2 separate regions of the Homo sapiens genome follow, and region 1 is linked to region 2. The links are contacts of gene promoters, found by promoter capture Hi-C in human tissues and cell types (Jung and others, 2019). All regions are on one chromosome and are shown on one strand. The core of a region is centred on a gene start or on the middle of the fragment in contact, and the rest is flanking DNA. Distances in the headings are between cores, read along the strand shown.

The links. The method cuts DNA at HindIII sites, captures the fragments that hold promoters and counts their contacts. A contact is called where the count stands out against the background at its distance.
Region 1: a fragment that was not itself captured here is called in contact with the fragment with the promoter of PRUNE2 in region 2 in 2 of the 25 tissues and cell types used here (H1 embryonic stem cells and psoas muscle).

Annotation. Positions count from the first base shown.
Region 1 is chr9:76,794,403-76,797,415 of GRCh38, reverse strand. All of the region lies in intron 6 of PRUNE2 (prune homolog 2 with BCH domain), which reads left to right. Among named protein-coding and RNA genes, the nearest start is that of PCA3, 31 kb to the right of the region's middle. The HindIII fragment of the contact is 6,528 bases long and covers 1-3,013 here.
Region 2 is chr9:76,904,366-76,907,391 of GRCh38, reverse strand. It overlaps PRUNE2 (prune homolog 2 with BCH domain), which reads left to right and starts at 1,278. Exons shown (of 19, transcript NM_015225.3): 1 at 1,278-1,464. The coding sequence starts at 1,429. RefSeq lists a silencer at 1,149-1,208. The HindIII fragment of the contact is 8,445 bases long and covers 1-3,026 here.

The DNA of each region.
Region 1 (3,013 bases), core at 492-2,991, 110 kb after region 2:
AAAAGAAAACTAACCAAACAAACAAACAAACAAAAACAGCTGAACTCACCCTTGACTATCATCACCTCAATCTCAAACCAGAAGTAATTGCCAATTTGGTATATCCCTTTTCAGTTCTTTTTCTGTGCATTTTTATATATTTATACCTATAGAAATATTTTTTTTCAATTATATAGAACGTAAAAGAGAAACTATAACTAATGAAATACATTCTTTCTGACCTGATAATTCCTATTACTATTTTTAAACTAAAAATAATACATATATAAAGTTAGAAAATTTTAACAGTACACAGTGATCAAAATGTAAAGTAAACCCTTTTTTCTCCCCAATTCCTCTCCCAGTAGTAACACTGTTAAATGCTTGTGTGTGTGTGTATGTGTGAGTGTGTGATTTCATTTTGGAAACAATCTCAGTAAATGGGTGTATTGGTCAGGGTTCTTCAGAGAGACAGAGCCAACAGCGTCTAGATTAATTTTGATCTGAAAGCTGGCAGGATCAAGATCCAAGAAGAATGAATGTTTCAGTTTGCATCCTAAGGCCAGAAAAGACTGAAGTTCTGCAGGAGAGGCTCCCTCTTCCTCAGCCTTCTTGTTCTATTTGAGTCTTCAGTTGATTGGATGGGGTCTACCCACACGGGGGAAAGTGGTCAGCTTTACCCGGTCTGCTAATTCCAGTGTTAATCTCATGCAGAAACACCATCAGAGACATACCTAGAATGTAATGTTTGGCCAAATGTCCGGACATCCCATGTGGCAGTCAAGTTGACACATACAAAATTAACTATGACAATTAGGAAATGCATAAATGCCAGCTGTAAGGAGGCATTCTTTCAGTCTACCCATTTTATAGTAAAACAGGTTGTGTGAGTAGCATAAAGTGCATGCCAGACACTTGTGACACCAATCAGGGGAAGAAGTGGTGGGGGCCGTGCCAAAATGAGGATCTTGATGATTCAAGTTCTTTTACAGAATCCTCTCAGATTTCTGCTTTCTCACCACGCATGTTTCTTTGCCTATCCTTCCTGGGGCATGAGGGCCTCAGGAGGAGAAGCATGTGTGCTTCTCCTGTGCCCTGGGGTAATGATCGTAGCGAGGCTTTATTTTATCAGCCCTTGTCATTTAATGATATTGTCATTGAACCAGTCCATTGCGTGGTCCCTTCTACAGTTCCTCTTCTTGCTTATTTAAAAAATTCCTTTGGAGCTAGCAAGATTTGGATCTTAGGTTGCTAATAGAAGAGTGCTGTGCGTTCTTAAGCAATTTACCTGGCAAAATTTTATGAGTGATCATATATCTTTTGTAAAGAAAAGCATTTTATTTACCCAAATTATACACAAACTTGATTTAAACATTAGAGCCTGGGTTAAACTTTGAAATGAGGCACCTGTGAAGTGAGTGATTGGAACAGTAAATTAGTTCCCTTGATTTATCAGATTCTGCAGTTGTTTTACGGTAGTCTTATAGTCCCAATACCAATATCTATCTGTTTGAGTCTTATTCTCTCAGAAATTTTCTCAATATGAAAAGTCAATGTCCAGGCAGAAGTACTTCAATATTAAATGGTTTCTGGCCATTTGTTAAAAAAGTTATGTGTGATTTTTATGTACACCTGGGGCTTTGAATTAATGGGATGTACTAACCACCAGGTATAGAAGGTGGACTACATGATTCATTAAAAGTACCGTATTTGGATCCTGTCAATAAAATTCTGTATTTTTACGGTGAACAAAATATTTGCATTTATCTCCCCTTCCTTCCTCTGCCCCTTTCTGTGCCCCCTCTTTCCCCTTTTAGGCTCGTGTACAAGAAACCATAAGGCAGAGATAACATGATCACATCACTTTTGGGAGAACATGCTCCCCCCCAGGGGCTATTAGTAACTCAAAATCAGGTTGAATCACAAACCAAGACAAGTTGAATTGTGAACTGTCTCTGGGCTGGGGCTGTTTCAAGATCCAATGGGGTCTGCTAAGATGGGATTCACAGAATGACATTGGAGGGATCAGAAATAAGACCCCTCTCAAAGGCAGGGGTCTGGGTCTAGTGCCTGACTTCTCTCAATGTTTGTCTGGGTCTCCGCAGTTTGGTGACCATAGTTATGGTGTTTTGACGGTGTGATGTCTTTGAAGCCCAGTGTTACTGATGGTAGCATTATCTAGAAGGCAGATCTGCTCTTTGGACACATGTGTGCCCGAGATACTGATAGGGTATGATACTGAGACCTAGCTAGAGTAATAGTTCATGCATATTCATTCTGGAGATTGGCCAAAGCTTCCTCTCAGCATCCGACAGCTGGAACCCAGTCACCCTGGCCAGCGTCATTCAATTAGGCCCCCATTCCCAGGTAAGGCTTCTCTGTTGTCTCTGACCATATGTTAGAGCAGTGGGAGTCCAGTAACTTCTCTTGCCTTCCTTCGTGGCAGGCAGAAGAGCATTGGAGGGTATTTTTTCCTTCTAGTAGGTCTACATCAACAGACTGATAATTCAAGTAATAATAATTATAATAATTGGTAATACATATCAAATTCTGAGTATGTTCTGGACACTTTGCTTAAAACTTAATGTGATTTGTCCTATTTAATTCTTAGGGCCACTCCATGAGGTAGTTACTTGGTATTTGCATTCCCATTATACATATATAGCAGATGACTGAGGCCTGGAGAAGGTATGTAACTTTGCTCGAGGTCGGACAGCTACTAAATGGTGAAGAAACTAAGCTTTCTTTCCAGGGATTCCCCTTCCAGGTGCTGCACTCTTTCTTTTTCTTTCTTTCTTTTCTTTTCTTTTTTTTTTTTTTTTTGAGACAGAGTCTCTCTTTGTCGCCAGGCTGGAGTGCAGTGGTGCGATCTGGGCTCACTGCAACCTCTGCCTCCGAGATTCAAGCGATTCTCTTGCCTCAGCCTCCCGAGTAGCTGGGACTACAGGCGCCGGCCACTACGCCCAGCTAATTTTTGTATTTTTAGTAGAGACAGGGTTTCACTGTGTTGGCCAGGATGACCTCGATCTCTTAA
Region 2 (3,026 bases), core at 29-2,528:
CATTAGAATCACTTGGGTCACTTTCCACAGAAATGCTGTGGCCCCATGCCCAGAGATATTAATTTAATTGGACTGGGATAAAGCCCTGGTATCAGTACTTTCTCAAGTCTCAGGTGATTACGATGTGATTTTACTGTGCAGTCAGGGTTGAGGCTACTTCTGTAGAACAGCTGAGGCTGGGGGCTAGGACAAGGGCTGGAAGGATCTTACAGGTGGTGTGCAAAAGCCCAGAGGTCAGAGAAAGCCTGATGTAGTGTGTTTGGGGACCGGACAAGGCTACATACAACAAAACCCCATGATTTAAAATAAGGTTTGTAGATATAAGTTCATTTGTTCATTGTAGTACTTCTTAAACTTTAACAAGCATAGAAATCATCTGAGGGTCTCATAGAAACACACAGATTCTGATTTGGTAAGTAGGAGCAGGGGACTGAGGTTCTGCATTTCTATAAGATCAGCGATGCTGATGTTGCCGGTCTGCAGACTGCACCTCACCTTAGCAAGGTTCTATTGCCCCAGCTTTCCCTGAGGGTACATGTCAGTGGATGGGAACTGCAGAAGGATGTATCTATGCATTAGTCCCAGGGCTGACATAAGGGCACCTAGTTGGGGTGAACTGTGGATGCCCATTGTTGTGTGGACATGTTTTCATGGTAGGGAGGAAAGACGCAGCCTCGCCCAACCTCCTAGCCTGCTCTTCTGATTATTATCCATCAAGGTCGTACTGCTTTTAGCTCAGCAGTAACTCCCCTCTTTCTCTCCTCGTCCCTCCCACGCCAATCTAGCTGAGTGCCTCCCCCGGCCAGGCCAGCCGACCAGATCATTAAGTGACCGCCGGAGTGCTCCGTAACGCGCCAGCCAGCCAGTGAGGCGCTGGGCGAGGCGGGGGCTCTCCTGGGACCCGTCTCCCTCTTCCCACCTTCCCCCGCTGACCGCGGCGGTGCCTGCGGCAGAGCCTCCCTCTGCAGCAGCCCCTTGCACTTGGCTCGCACTTCTGGGCGCTGTCCATGGTTGCAGCAGCTTTCGGCGCGCCACGTCAGGAGGCCGCAGCACGGCCCTGCGATTGGCGGAGGAGCCCCTCGCCATACCCCTGCACCTCCGCCCACGCGCCACGGCGCCCGAGGCGCGTGCCAGAGAGCGTGCCCGGCGCGCCCCGGGGCTCCTGGGCGGCACACCCACTTTCCTTATTAGGGCAGAGTCGGGTGCCCAGAGCCGGCGGCCGGGCGAGGGGTGGGGCGGGGAGCCCTGGGCGAGACGGTCGAGGGCGCAAGCACAGCCTCCGCCGCAGCCGCCTCAGAGCGGCAGGAGGGAGCAGTCGGTCGCTGCGCCCCGGCGGGCCACTTTCCCGGGACCCCGCTCGTCTTCCTTGGGCCGAGATTTTCCACTGCGCCCCTCCGAGTACCCGGGTTCCAAACCCCTAGCCACGACATGGAAGAATTTTTGCAACGCGCCAAATCTAAACTGGTAAGTTGAGTGAGCAAAGCTGTGTGTGTGCGCGCGCGCGTATGCTAATGGAAAGGTGGAGAGGAAAAGGTGTTGCAGCAGAGGAGGAAGAAACAACTTTGCCACGGAGTTATCAGGGTGTGCGGGTTGTCTCCTGGAAGAAATCTCAGGAACTCTGGCTCTTAAAGCTGGCAATCTGTCTCCAGAATCCTCCACCGCAACCAGACGAGGTGCAGAGCTGAAGGAGGTTGTGGCCTGGCTGAAGTTGGGTCGCTTCAGTCCAGCTTCGGTCCCTAAATCAGCAGTTTGCTCCTGAAAGCTAAGGGATAAATGGGTGTGGTCTTCCTTGAGATAAAGAGCCCAGCCTTCTGCAGATGCATTACGTGTAAGTGTAAAAGGAAAAAAAGAGACCCTTAGAACTGTACTTCAGCTGGAGGTGACAAAAGTGAGGAAGTCAGGGTGCTGGGTAGCAAGGACATGTGTGGTACTGGAGAATCCACAGAATAGAGCTTGCTCCACTGCAGGAGTTAGGGATATTCTAGTGTGTCTTGTGTCTCGCTAATTCCTGTTCACATCTGTAAATTGGGGCGGAGGCAGAAGGGGAAAGCTCTAACTGTTGGTGTTCTGGAGTTTACCAGATCATCGTTCTCCCGGGAGCAGACCTGTGTGTTAGCCCATGTTTACCATATCACTGTCCAAACAGTGAATGGGCAACTCCACTGTGTATGTTAACAGTTGCTACACATTCTGAAACAACAGACTCTAGCAGTTTCTTAATTCCAAACTGTTTTGGCTCTCCAGCACAGCAGTAATAAACATAATGGAAATGTTTCTGTTTTGGCAGAAAAAAAAAGAAAAGCCTGTACTCATTTAGAAGCAATATCTTTAAAGAACTGTAAAAGCACCTTTTACAGGCCTGGCATAGAAAGAAATGCATAATTTATGATGCCTTTAACCTTTAAGCCTTCATAGAAGCCAAAATGTAAAGTCTGCATTAAGGTAATGTTTTAATCACAAGGCAGGATATTTGCAGGGTTATTACTGTAACTCATTTACCCTCGCACAACAAAGGGAGTGCAGGAAGGGAGGGCCCAAAGATGCCTGAACCACCATTCAGAGTGCAGACGGAAGTGTGATCCTTACAATGGTCTAACTGTAACTATCTTGTAAAAGACCATTAAAGTTGATAAGTGCTTATATAAAACTTTCTACCTGAAACCTCCCAGAGAGTTGAACGTTTGTGGAGATTTCCGAGTTGAGGAAGTTTGTGATCATCTCTGTGTTTATTGACCCTTTTATAGTTTTACTAGAGCACATGGATGAAAATACTAATTTCAGAAACTCAAGTAAGTATTTGGCATTTCTGATAGTATAAGTACATGTTCTGTTCTTTACCTAGTAATGAAGGAGAAATGTTCAAAAATGAAAGACAATTTTGGCAACTGTGCGTGTGTGTGTATGAAAATGGTAATCAATGACAAACACAGAGTTCTGGGCTGTATCTGTTTTTCACTCCCATAACATTTATTTATCAATATTTTCACAATAAACATTTAGACTGTGGGGTCTGATATGAGCAAGAG